2 separate regions of the Homo sapiens genome follow, and region 1 is linked to region 2. Evidence: promoter capture Hi-C in human tissues and cell types (Jung and others, 2019). All regions are on one chromosome and are shown on one strand. Each heading gives the region's core, a stretch centred on a gene start or on the middle of the fragment in contact. The rest is flanking DNA. Distances are from core to core; before and after follow the strand shown.

Region 1 (6,977 bases), core at 4,244-6,743, 400 kb after region 2:
GCCTGGCCCTACTCCTATTTTATGAAAAAGAAGCTGAGGCCACACAAAGGCTGTGATTTGCACAAGGCTGGAAAGCCACGATTCAAACCAAGGCAGAATTCCAAACTCCAAGCTCTTTGTACTATGCTTGTGATAGACAACTAAAATGAAGTAAAAAAATACACTACTTTGTAAGTCAACTTACATTTATGCACATTTTCAATATCTGCAGGGTCCTGTAGAATCCTACTTAGGCCTTCCAAAAGAAGGGCTGCCTTATGATAGCGATAAACAATATCTTCGGTCTGCTGAAACATCTCATCCAGGGCTGCAGACTGAACCTGGAACCAGTCAACAAAAACACAATTCTCTCAATTTTTCCAAGAAAATACAAATCCATTTGGGCAATGAAGCTTTAAATGGAATCCACCTAAAATTAACACATTTTGGTAAAGTGATACAGTCTGCAAAACTACATAAAACTCAAAGATTCTTTGGGATGAGCAATATATAAGAGCAACTTCATAAAAAGTCGGTCTGCTTTCAAACACAGCCTTCTGGTATTCAGAGGTATGCTTCATAAATTTCATACTAGAACCCTTCTAAACTGGCTCTTTTATGACTTCATTATAAATTGATTTTAAACACACACTTCCATATAAGGGTAACCTGAAATTTCATTAAAGTAGATTTTGTTTCAATAATATAATTAAATGATGCTAATAGTCACTTGCTGGCTTTACTGGCTTCTTTTTCTAGCCAAATAATTTTTGGGTGTAGTCATTCATTCATTCAAAGATACTTATTGAGCACCTAACAAAGTGCCAGGCACTGCGCCTACAATGAAGGAGAGCTTGCAGTCTGGAGGGAGATACAGTCCTGCAAAAAATGCAATTCTAATGCCAAGGCACACACGGTGTTACAGGAGGAAGCACTGGATGATACGGAATACATAGGGGATGCCTCTAACCTATATTACGGAAGGAGAAGATGATTAGGGGAAGCTTCCAGGAGGTGCTGTTTGTGCTGAATCATAAAGCAACAACAGCAGAAGTGAATCAGGTGAGGAAAAATGTGGGAAGGGGCTCTCCAGAAAGAGGGGATGGTAGCATTATTCACAGGGGTTTCCCCATCGACATTCTGATTTTCTCTTTGATCATTAAGTACCAGAACTCTCAGAAATCCAGTATCCGAATTTACTTGTTAATATGCTATATCTTGTTTTTGTTTTTAATTTTTAAAATGTATTTATGCATTCTTATATAGATGGGGTCTCGCTCTGTTGCCTAGACTAATCTTGAACTCCTGAGCTCAAGCAATCCTCTTGTCTCAGCCTCCTGAGTAGCTGGGACTACAGGTGCATGCCACTGCACCTAGCTATTCTCTCTCCTTCAAAAAAAATAATTTCAAGCAGCTAACAATAAAGCAAATAAAATGGATACAGAAGATCAGAGCCAGGACAAGGAAAAAGAAAAAAATAACTAAGTGTTAATGCCTCTAAGCTCACTAAGCAGCCAGGACGAACGGAGGAATTTATAAGTTATAGGGCTCTTTATTCTGAGAAGGAAAAACAGCATTATAATTCCATATGGAGGACATTTTTCTGGTGCAAAATTCTAAAAATAATTTATCATATGAGGTCTCAACTCAGCATACAGTGATGCAGTGCATATTATTCATCTCAATAGTTTACAGCAATATGATATATACTATTTTTGTCAAGAATTTATATTCCAAAGTTATTTTCCTATGGTTATTTTAATAAATTTCAAAATAAGGCCACGGATGTAATATAACAGCACAGTTCACAGTAGACAAATAGAAAATGGAAAGGGGGATCTATTATGTTAATGTGTTAGAAATACAATTGGCATGCCGGGCACAGTGGCTCACACCTATAATCCCAGCACTTTGGGAGGCCGAGGTGGGTGGATCACCTGAGGTCAAGAGTTCAAGACCAAGCCTGGCCAACATGGTAAAATCCTGTCTCTACTAAAAACACAAAAATTAGCTGGGTGTGGTGGCAGGTGCCTGTAATCCCAGCTACATGGGAGGCTAACGCAGCAGAATCGCTTGAACCTGGGAAGCAGAGGTTGCAGTGAGCCAAGATCATGCTGCTGCACGTCAGCCTGGACGACAGAACAAAACTCCATCTCAAAAAAAAAAAAAAAAAAAAAAAGAAAAACATATGATTGGCTAACTAATGAATTTTCCCCCACTTAACTACTTTTTCAACAGCCTCTATTTTTATTTATACTTTAGAGTAATTTTTCCCCGAGAGGCAGAAAACAAATTATTTCCAATATTAAAACCAGAAAATAGGAAAAGAAGGTTTTACTTTGTGTCTATCCTACAATATCAGTAAGTGGGACCTGAGCACATAAATTTGTGTGGATTGATTAATAAAGCAGTGTTTTTCCTAAGAGTTTTATCAAGCCTAACTTTCTTAAACAGCAGAAAATGCAGAAACAGATCCTGCTAATGCTTTTAGATGCACACTATAAAAAGATTAGATCGGCTGGGCACGGTGGCTCACATCTGTAATCCCAGCACTTTGGGAGGCTAAGGAGGGTGGAACACCTGAGGCCAGGAGTTGGAAACCACCCTGGCCAACATGGCAAAACCCCATCTCTACTAAAAATACAAAAATTAGCTGGGCATGGTGGCAAGTGCCTGTAATCCCAGCTACTCAGGAAGCTGAGGCAGGAGAATCACTTGAATCTGGGAAGCAGAGGTTGCAGTGAGCTGAGATCGTGCCACTGTACTCCAGCCTGGGCGACAGAGTAACTCCGTCTCAAGAAAAAAAAAAAAAGAAAAAAAAAAGATTAGATCATGCCTAATGCCAGCAATGTTTAATAAGAGCTGTAATAAACTTATAGCAAATGTGGTAAACGGATTTGTAATTACTTAAAATACATCCAGTAAATGACATTAACAGTTGCTTAAATCCAATTACTTCTTTAGTAGAAGGCAATCCACAATACTTGGGACTTGAGACATTATCTTTTAAAAGGATAGCTGTCATATAGATATTCAATTAAAAAGACACTTAAAGATAAGTAGTACTATACAATATTAAACCTTAGAAAGGGTTACCATTTCTACAGCACAATTATAGATGAGTTTCTCTGCAGTCACACTGTTGATTTCATCAATAAACCTCTGTTTGTCAGAGAAGAATCGATTCAGCTTTTCTGTAAGTTTCTTGCACATGGTGATGCAGAATTTATATCGTTCGTTCAGATTCTTGACAACTGAAAAAAAATTGAGATGGGAACTAATTTTAATTTTCCTCCAGAAATAAAGACACAGTTATATGTATCTTTCCTGCTGATATATAGGGAAGGTGTCACTATGTGATCATTCAAAAAAAGGACCAGAAATAGGATTTTTTCATGTTATCTCTTTCAATATGAAAAGATTGAGAATAATGCACTTCAGACTTCTATCAATTGAACTGCAAAAAGCTAACAACCCAGCATCTTTTCCCTTTAAGAATACTGAAAAATAAAAACAACAGTGAGTACTCATCAGACACTCTCTCACAGTGTGATGGGAAAGAGCAACTTAAGGACTGACCCCTGGAGTTACACGCTGCCTTCTCCCATACCTTGTTTCACAGCTGTGGATGGGCTCAGTTTCCCGGACTTGATCTGGGCTTTGGCAAGATGCAGAGAAGCCGCAAGCAGCTGTGCTGCTTTCATGTACAACACCAGCTGCTCCACCCGCCTGCACCCAAAAGACAGTAGCAGAGGGTTATCTTGTGAACTAATGTAAGATGTGGCACTCTACACAACAGGTCACCATTAAAATTGCCTTTCTATAAAGGAATAGCATCCTCTTTGATTTCTTTTCTTCTTTCTTTTCTTTTTTTTTTTTTTTTTTTGACAGAGTCTTGCTCTGTCCCCCAGGCCGAAGTATAGTGGCTTGATCTTGGCTTACTGCAGCCTCTACTTCCTGGGCTCAAGGGATCCTCCCACCTCAGCCTCCCGAATATTAATAGTTGGGACCACAGGGACGCACCACCATGCCCGGCTAATTTTTGTATTTTTTGTAGAGACAGGGATTCATCATATTGCCCAGGCTGGTCTCGAACCCATGGGCTCAAGCAATCCTTCTGCCCCATCCTCCCAAAGTGCTGGAATTACATATAGGCATAAGCTACTGCGACCAGCCCTCCTTAATTTCTTAATGCACAAGTAAACTCTCAAGGGACAAGGCATAGTTAAAGATGTGTGTACTGTGAAAATAACGGATACACTCAGATAAAAATCAATACAATCTATTTACACAAAAGAACTTCAACAGTATAATTTACAAGGAAAGGCAACACTGAGGTTGCATAATCTCCAGGTCTTGGCTCATATAGTGAAATGTAGTACAAAGAAATAATTGAGACTCCTAGCTTTTAATAATGAGATATGATCTTCAGTGGATGACAATACCTACAACTTAGACACAAGTTTAGACAAAGCATGAAAAGTCTGGAAATGAATGACAAGGGGGCACCCACCCCCAGTCTTTGCTCAGCTGACTGATCTGGTCCACCACCACACTCTCCTGGATCTGGTACAAGGACACAGCAGATGTGCACAGCTCAGGGTTTCCTCCCCTCATGGCTGTCAGGTCCAGCACACACTCAGTGAACATCAGCATCACATTCAGATGGCGTAAGGTGTCTGTGTGTTCCCGCTGCAGCAAAGTCAATTTGTCTTAGAAAATTTCAGATTAAAAATACGTACATACTCATTTCTGTACATAAACCATGGCCGCTGATCATGTTTTCTATACTTATGAGTATCAGAATGACAAAAGGAGATTGAAATTTTTAAATTTCAGAAAGCTGGTAAGAAAATGAACACAAATGAAACCAAATATAGGTATATGCATGTGTTTGTGTATGTGTATCAGAGTACCCACATAAGTAAACTCAGGATGGGTCGCTGTGCTTTTACCAGAAAAAGAAAAGAAAGCTGAACGATTAAATCAATATACATGAGACAAAAACGTGACAAGGTAGACACAAAGATTACAAGGATACTATAGGTGCTAAATCACACTTCTTGATACTGTATTGAATTCTGCTGACTTCTTATAATTTCAGAGTTGCTTTATTTAATTTCTGGTCGTTTTTCAGTTAACAGTGATTACTAATACCAAAGCTCTAACTTTCTGTGATCTTTTCAGTTAGTTAAAGAGGGGAGTGTGGGTAGACATAACAGCATTCAGAGGGCTGTCATTTAAAAATGGGCATTCTAGGCCGGGCATGGTGGCTCATGCCTGTAATCCAAGCACTTTGGGAGGCCAAGGCGGGTGGATCACCTGAGGTCAGGAGTTTGAGACCAGCCTGGCCAACATGGCGAAATCCCGTCTCTACTAAAAATACAAAAATTAGCTGGGCGTGGTGGCATGTGCCTGTAGTCCCAGCTCCTCAGGAAGCTGAGGCAGGAGAGTGGCTTGAACCCAGGAGGTGGAAGTTAGAGTGAGCTGAGATCGCACCACTGCATTCCAACCTGGGTGACAGAGCAAGACTCTGTCTCAAATAAACAAACAAACAAACAAACAAATAAATAAATAAATAAATGGGTATTCTAGATTGTTGTTTTGAGATTTGTTTTTAGTTATAAATGCATTCTGAAATCTCAAGCCTAAAAGTTTCCCACTCTTTTATGGTTAAATAAAGATGAGAATCATTTTCCTAGTGACAGGAGAATAAGCCAATTGACTTCTAAAAGTCTCTCTGCTCTGTGACAGCATATTGCACTGTATGTTTCAATACACTGGAACATGCAATAGAATGTACTAGAATGCTCACGCCTGTAATCCTAGCACTTTGGGAGGCAGAGGTGGGCAGATCACAAGGTCAGGAGTTCGAGACCCGCCTGGCCAACATGGTGAAACCCCGTCTCTACTAAAAATACAAAAATTAGCCGGGCATGGTGGCGTGTGCCTGTAATCCCAGCTACTCGTGGGGGCTGAGGCAGGAGAATTGCTTGAACCCAGGAGGCAGAGGTGGGAGTGAGCCGAGATTGCACCACTGCACTCCAGCCTGGGTGACAGAGCAAGACTCTGTCTCAAAAAAAAAGAAAGAAAGAAAAACACAGAATCTATGTGTTTCTTCCTATAAACCAAAGCTTATTATGGATGAGTGTCACTGTCAATGTTAATTTAAAAAGACATCAGCAATACTTTTCAAACAGAAAAGGCACGTTAAAGAGAACATAACTTCCTAACTATTTAATGTATTTTGTTCTTGTCATCACTAGAATGTTCTCATATCAAATCAACATTACATTCACACCACTATAGTCTCTTTTCTACCTCCATCAGCGTCTCCTCCGGCAGTTCAGGGGCTTCAAAGGTGATGAGCCCCTCTAGGCTGGGGGGTGAAGCACCGTAAGGCACGTATCTCAGGCTGGGAGCTGCCTCTGCTCCTGGAGGGGAAGAGCCGAAGCCTGGGCCAGGCGGGGACCCCACGCACACGCGGCCACTCATGGCACAAAGAGAGCCCCCGGAGTTGCTGGGCCCCACTACAAGGAAACAGAGGATACATGGCAGTGTCCAGAGTTAGGGCTTTCACACCCACTCCTACTCTTATTTACTAAACAAACCTGCTGAGGTGACAAAGGAAAGTTTCGTTAAAAGAAACTCACTGACCCCCTATGTACTATTTGAGGATATTAATAGTTTTTACTTATCCATGTTCATTGTTATTCCTTGTCTATATATTTTATATTAGACATCATCAGAGCTAGTTTTTTTATACTCTGTTTTAAACAAATTTAGATCATATTCATTTCTCCTTGCTGCTCCACAGGGCCTCATAATTATAAAACTCAATGGATGCACTGATTCATTAAATTTATATATATTATATAATGTTTATCTGGAGTCATTTATACTATTTCTGATTTTATTCATATTACAAATAGCACTGTAATGAAATGCAGACAGTTGTTCCTTCTTTTGAATAATTTCTTTGTGATAAATACTCTGAA
Region 2 (6,944 bases), core at 603-3,102:
AAAAAAGCCGGGCTTGATGGCTCATGCCTGTGATCCCAGCTATTCGGGAGGCTGAGGCAGGAGACCAGGAGGGGGAGGTTGCAGTGAGCCGAGATCGCACCACTGCACTCCAGCCTGGGCAACAGAGTGAGACTCACTCTTCAAATAAAATAAAATAAAATAAAATAAAATAAAATAAAATAAAATAAAATAAACAACCAAAAAACCCTAGGTCTCCACAACCCCTTATCATAACCCAGATATTCCTTTCTATAGATAATAACTCTTGTAACCAACTGCCAATCAGGATATGTTTAAATCTACCTGTGACTTGGAAGCCCCTCCCCTTTGAGTTGTCCCGCCCTTCCAGAATAGACATTGAACAGACATTTCCCCAAAGGAGACAAATGGCCAATAAGCACATCAAATCAATGTCAATCTTGCATGTATTGACTTATGTATTATGTCTTCCTGAAATGTATAAAGGCTGACTATGCCCCGACCATCTTGGGCACATGTTGTAGGACCTCCTGAGGCTGTCACCACCATGTCCTTAACATTGGCAAAATAAACTTTCTAAATTGACTTGAGACTTGTCTCAGATACTTGGTTCACATAGGTTTCTTTTAGGGGCGATGAAAATGTTCCATAAACCACTCTACCTAAAATTAGGTAGTGATGATGGCTGCTCAACTGTGAATATACCAAAAAACACTGAATTGTACACTATAAAAGGATGAGTTTTATGGTATGTTATTAAAAGTTGTTTAAAAGTGAGGGACCCCTCCAGTTATTGATATGGAATGATCTTCAGGAAAAGAGCATAATATGCTACATTTTTGTACACCAAAGGGGAGGTAGGTACGAATATGCATACATATTGCTTTTTTCTAGAAGCCGCCTAGGAGTGAAACCAAAATTCTTCACTTCTTTTCGGCCCTACCTCGAGCTCCCTTTAGAAAACCTTTCCTTCCAGCTCACAGTATCCACCATGTCCACCTTCGCCTCCCGGCACTGAGCCTTAGAGGGGCGGTGCTCCATAAACATTTGCTACATGAATGAACGAATAAACTATCGGATTTTGGGGTGGGTCGGGACAGCTCGGTTCCAGCGAGGGCTCCGCCCACCCGCGGGCTCCGCAGAGGAGCAGAGGTTGGGCGGCCGCCTCGGTTAACTCCGCTGCAGCCCAAAGCACGGGAATCGCGGGACAGACAAACGAGCGGAGGGAAGATACCTAGAAGCCAGGAAACCGCGAGCTGCAGTCCAACTTGGCCGGAAGCTGCGGAGAGGCTCAGCCACCGGAAGTCAGTGGAGGGTTCGGCCGGACGCTCTAGAATCCCGGAGGACCGGGATCTCTGTGGTTGGCCGTGACGGGCACCCTCTACCGGGGATGACACATTCCCAGAGCTCCTGGGACCAAGCAAATGGCGGACACAATTCCCTGGGCGGAAGGGGACTTCGGGAGCCAGTAGCCAAGGTAACAGTCCCAGACCTGGGCATCTCAGGCCGGGCAGTTCCCCGAGCTCACGGGACTAGCTGTGATTGGCCGGATGAGGTTGAGAGCTTCATGGGGACGCGCGCGCTACGTGCAGGGGCGTTGCCTTCCATTCACTTGGCGCCCGACTGCCAGTGCGCATGCGTTTGAAGGCGGTGCAGGGCGGGGAGCACACCCCTGCGAAGTGCCGGGCACCCTTTGGGCGGCTCCCGCCGGCGAGCTGGACAGCGGCGCGCGCCAGGCGTGGCTTTCTCGGCCGGTGGGCTAGGATTGGACGCAGTAGGTAGAAGGGGCAGGACCCTCCGCAGCAGTAGCTCAGCGATTGGCCAGGAGCTGGAGGGAGCGTGGCCTTGGGAGGCGGGGCGGAGGGGGACGGACAGGGCAGCTCAAGACGCTGAGGTGGTGGCTGCGGCCTTTGAACAAGTAAGTGAGCCACCCTCGGAGACCCCCGCGCTGGGGACGGGAGGCCGGCGAGCCTCGGGACCTCTGAAAGCCTTGAGGAGGCGCGGGGGTGAGTGCGGCCCTGAGGAAACCCAGGTGCCCCGCCCCTCCCTTTCTTCCTGGCCCGCGCCTCGCCTACCCCTCCCCCGACCCTGGCGGGCCCCCGGCTCTGGGCCCGGACCCCTGGGGTAGCTAGTCTGCCACGAACCAGCCGCGCGCTTCTGCCCTTGTCGGTTTAGGAAACTGGGAAGTTCCCTGGTCCTGCTCCCCAGCCCGCAGAGGGGACACTGAGGCCCACGGTAGGTGGTCCTCTCCTCACCCGAGTCTCCACACAGACACCATGGCCGAGCCTCTGAAGGAGGAAGACGGCGAGGACGGCTCTGCGGAGCCCCCCGGGCCCGTGAAGGCCGAACCCGCCCACACCGCTGCCTCTGTAGCGGCCAAGAACCTGGCCCTGCTTAAAGCCCGCTCCTTCGATGTGACCTTTGACGTGGGCGACGAGTACGAGATCATCGAGACCATAGGCAACGGGGCCTATGGAGTGGTGTCCTCCGCCCGCCGCCGCCTCACCGGTGAGCTTCCTGAGCCGTCGCCTCCCAGATGTGGCAGCGTCGCAGGGAGTGGGAAACCGGCCTGTCCCAGACAGCCGGGAAGGAAAGCGGGGTGCGAGTTCTGGCTCCAGTCAACACACACTGACCAGGGCCTTCTGCCTGCCAGGCTCCGGGGAGGCTCGGTTCTCTGAAACTCCGGCCTGGTGGTTTTGCCATCCTGCCTGCCTACTTCCTCCTTAGGAAAATGATAGTCCCAGTTAGACCAGAATGGAGAGCCAGTCCTTCGTGTCTAAGAGAGAAATGTGTTCTGGAGCCAGACACTGGCATAAGGAACTGGTGGTGGGATGGGTGAGGTCTGAGATGGAGAGGGTGTAGGCATAAGAGGCTGAGCTACACCACTGGGCATCCGTGCAACCTCCAACAAGTTACTAAGCCATATTTCCTTCTCTTTAACGTTGACCTATTGGGACCTGCCCCGCAGGGGAGTTGTGAAGGTAACATTTAATAATGTAGGTAACATGCTTAGCACAGGGCTTGGCACATAGTAGGTACCCAATACTTGGTAGCTGTTGTCATTTGCATCCTAGAAGGGAGGTGTTGATAGGGGCTGAGTCGACTCTGCAGTTTCTCCAAGGTATCCTCTGGTATGTCCCTTTTCCCTGCTCCTCAGGCCAGCAGGTGGCCATCAAGAAGATCCCTAATGCTTTCGATGTGGTGACCAATGCCAAGCGGACCCTCAGGGAGCTGAAGATCCTCAAGCACTTTAAACACGACAACATCATCGCCATCAAGGACATCCTGAGGCCCACCGTGCCCTATGGCGAATTCAAATCTGTGTAAGAAGCGGGATGGGAGAGGGAGCCAGACTTGGGACTTTTCTGAAGGCTGCAACCATGTTGCCGAAGTTCTGGAAAGGCAGCTGAATCTAATCTGAAGCAGGCTGGGAAAATTCCCGCAGTTCTAGGACCAGTTCTTTAGAGTTTTGCCAGGGACAACTGTTATTCCTCAAGAAGTGTACAGATGATTTTACAGTTTTATAGAATCTTAGTATATAGGATGTCAAATGTAGGACATTCCTACTATGACCACACCCTCCTATTCCCATAGCAGACTTCACTAATCAATCACAGAACACTTTCCTACAGACAGTGGACAAGCCTGGTCAATTTTCATCATAGTTCTTCAAGCTGCCACTACCAAACAATGGAGATAGCCCCAAAAGGAAACCTATTGGCCAGCCCTGGTGTAGTCCAACCCCATCTTTTATCTGATGGGGAAACTAGGTCTGGAGACAAAAGTGATTTAACCAAGTTCATGGAAAAGTCGTAGAGAATCTAAAACGTGATGCTCTTCTTCCATACCATGCCGTCAGCCCCTATGGGGTCCCAGGGTAAGGCTGTTACCTGTCTGGAATCGGAAGGGTGTGGTGAGGATGGGGCTTGTCCCTGGAGTGTGATCAGGCCAACCCATGCTTCTCTCCTTCCTTCCCCTTCCAGCTACGTGGTCCTGGACCTGATGGAAAGCGACCTGCACCAGATCATCCACTCCTCACAGCCCCTCACACTGGAACACGTGCGCTACTTCCTGTACCAACTGCTGCGGGGCCTGAAGTACATGCACTCGGCTCAGGTCATCCACCGTGACCTGAAGCCCTCCAACCTATTGGTGAATGAGAACTGTGAGCTCAAGATTGGTGACTTTGGTATGGCTCGTGGCCTGTGCACCTCGCCCGCTGAACATCAGTACTTCATGACTGAGTATGTGGCCACGCGCTGGTACCGTGCGCCCGAGCTCATGCTCTCTTTGCATGAGTATACACAGGCTATTGACCTCTGGTCTGTGGGCTGCATCTTTGGTGAGATGCTGGCCCGGCGCCAGCTCTTCCCAGGCAAAAACTATGTACACCAGCTACAGCTCATCATGATGGTGCTGGGTACCCCATCACCAGCCGTGATTCAGGCTGTGGGGGCTGAGAGGGTGCGGGCCTATATCCAGAGCTTGCCACCACGCCAGCCTGTGCCCTGGGAGACAGTGTACCCAGGTGCCGACCGCCAGGCCCTATCACTGCTGGGTCGCATGCTGCGTTTTGAGCCCAGCGCTCGCATCTCAGCAGCTGCTGCCCTTCGCCACCCTTTCCTGGCCAAGTACCATGATCCTGATGATGAGCCTGACTGTGCCCCGCCCTTTGACTTTGCCTTTGACCGCGAAGCCCTCACTCGGGAGCGCATTAAGGAGGCCATTGTGGCTGAAATTGAGGACTTCCATGCAAGGCGTGAGGGCATCCGCCAACAGATCCGCTTCCAGCCTTCTCTACAGCCTGTGGCTAGTGAGCCTGGCTGTCCAGATGTTGAAATGCCCAGTCCCTGGGCTCCCAGTGGGGACTGTGCCATGGAGTCTCCACCACCAGCCCCGCCACCATGCCCCGGCCCTGCACCTGACACCATTGATCTGACCCTGCAGCCACCTCCACCAGTCAGTGAGCCTGCCCCACCAAAGAAAGATGGTGCCATCTCAGACAATACTAAGGCTGCCCTTAAAGCTGCCCTGCTCAAGTCTTTGAGGAGCCGGCTCAGAGGTGCCTTGTGGGCAGGTCGGGTGGGCAGAGGGGAGACTTGGACTTGGACAAGGCTTCAGGCTTTTACCTTCTCCCCTGCCCAACTTCCCCGCAGATGGCCCCAGCGCACCCCTGGAGGCTCCTGAGCCTCGGAAGCCGGTGACAGCCCAGGAGCGCCAGCGGGAGCGGGAGGAGAAGCGGCGGAGGCGGCAAGAACGAGCCAAGGAGCGGGAGAAACGGCGGCAGGAGCGGGAGCGAAAGGAACGGGGGGCTGGGGCCTCTGGGGGCCCCTCCACTGACCCCTTGGCTGGACTAGTGCTCAGTGACAATGACAGAAGCCTGTTGGAACGCTGGACTCGAATGGCCCGGCCCGCAGCCCCAGCCCTCACCTCTGTGCCGGCCCCTGCCCCAGCGCCAACGCCAACCCCAACCCCAGTCCAACCTACCAGTCCTCCTCCTGGCCCTGTAGCCCAGCCCACTGGCCCGCAACCACAATCTGCGGGCTCTACCTCTGGCCCTGTACCCCAGCCTGCCTGCCCACCCCCTGGCCCTGCACCCCACCCCACTGGCCCTCCTGGGCCCATCCCTGTCCCCGCGCCACCCCAGATTGCCACCTCCACCAGCCTCCTGGCTGCCCAGTCACTTGTGCCACCCCCTGGGCTGCCTGGCTCCAGCACCCCAGGAGTTTTGCCTTACTTCCCACCTGGCCTGCCGCCCCCAGACGCCGGGGGAGCCCCTCAGTCTTCCATGTCAGAGTCACCTGATGTCAACCTTGTGACCCAGCAGCTATCTAAGTCACAGGTGAGAGGGAGGCCCAGGCCATGGGGACACCTGGGTCTGGGCCAAAGGAAAATGGGTTCAGGAAGCGGTCAGTGTTCCACAAAAACTGAGCAGCAGATGGGGCTTTATCTCTGAACGTGTCCTCTTGCTCACAGAAGGAGCATAATGGCAATGAAGAGGTTGTTAGGAGACAAGTTAAATATGGCCTGCAAAGTGCCTAGCCCAGAGATGGGGCCAGCCAGCACTCACTGACTGCCGAGACTGGTGTTAGCACTCCCAGATATCCAGGCGGAGTAGTCAGCAGCATTGGGACAGGGTGGCCTACAGACCTCAGTCTGTCTGCATTGTAACCTGTCATTCCCTGCAGGTGGAGGACCCCCTGCCCCCTGTGTTCTCAGGCACACCAAAGGGCAGTGGGGCTGGCTACGGTGTTGGCTTTGACCTGGAGGAATTCTTAAACCAGTCTTTCGACATGGGCGTGGCTGATGGGCCACAGGATGGGTAAGGTGGCTGGACTGAGCTCCTAGACTGGGACTGTGGGGAGAGGTTCCTGGTGCAGGAGACATGCACCTGTGGGATGGGTGAGGGTCCAGCCTAGGCTAATAGCACCCCTCCCTTTCCTTCCCCTGCAGCCAGGCAGATTCAGCCTCTCTCTCAGCCTCCCTGCTTGCTGACTGGCTCGAAGGCCATGGCATGAACCCTGCCGATATTGAGTCCCTGCAGCGTGAGATCCAGATGGACTCCCCAATGCTGCTGGCTGACCTGCCTGACCTCCAGGACCCCTGAGGCCCCCAGCCTGTGCCTTGCTGCCACAGTAGACCTAGTTCCAGGATCCATGGGAGCATTCTCAAAGGCTTTAGCCCTGGACCCAGCAGGTGAGGCTCGGCTTGGATTATTCTGCAGGTTCATCTCAGACCCACCTTTCAGCCTTAAGCAGCCACCTGAGCCACCACCGAGCCATGGCAGGATCGGGAGACCCCAACTCCCCCTGAACAATCCTTTTCAGTATTATATTTTTATTATTATTATGTTATTATTACACTGTCTTTTTGCCATCAAAATGAGGCCTGTGAAATACAAGGTTCCCTTCTGCACCTGACTCCAGGTGTAATTTTTGGAGTTCGGGGTAGGACACCATCAGCAG

The links. Contacts are between HindIII fragments. The study calls those that stand out against the background at their distance.
Region 1: a fragment that was not itself captured here is called in contact with the fragment with the promoter of MAPK7 in region 2 in 1 of the 25 tissues and cell types used here (stomach).

Annotation. Positions count from the first base shown.
Region 1 is chr17:19,777,397-19,784,373 of GRCh38, forward strand. It overlaps ULK2 (unc-51 like autophagy activating kinase 2), which reads right to left. Exons shown (of 27, transcript NM_014683.4): 22 at 6,301-6,509; 23 at 4,493-4,671; 24 at 3,590-3,708; 25 at 3,076-3,233; 26 at 185-320. Among named protein-coding and RNA genes, the nearest start is that of ALDH3A1, 33 kb to the left of the region's middle. The HindIII fragment of the contact is 9,613 bases long and covers 688-6,977 here.
Region 2 is chr17:19,376,646-19,383,589 of GRCh38, forward strand. MAPK7 (mitogen-activated protein kinase 7) reads left to right here and starts at 1,853. Exons shown (of 7, transcript NM_002749.4): 1 at 1,853-1,985; 2 at 2,251-2,487; 3 at 3,137-3,302; 4 at 3,963-5,041; 5 at 5,136-5,821; 6 at 6,168-6,301; 7 at 6,433-6,899. The coding sequence starts at 2,256. The coding sequence ends at 6,586. It overlaps MFAP4 (microfibril associated protein 4), which reads right to left. Exons shown (of 6, transcript NM_002404.3): 6 at 6,800-6,944. It also overlaps a transcript of B9D1 not described here. RefSeq lists silencers at 929-978, 1,689-1,748, 1,819-2,078 and enhancers at 1,249-1,478, 3,816-4,778, 6,024-6,524, 6,525-6,944. The HindIII fragment of the contact is 16,435 bases long and covers 1-6,944 here.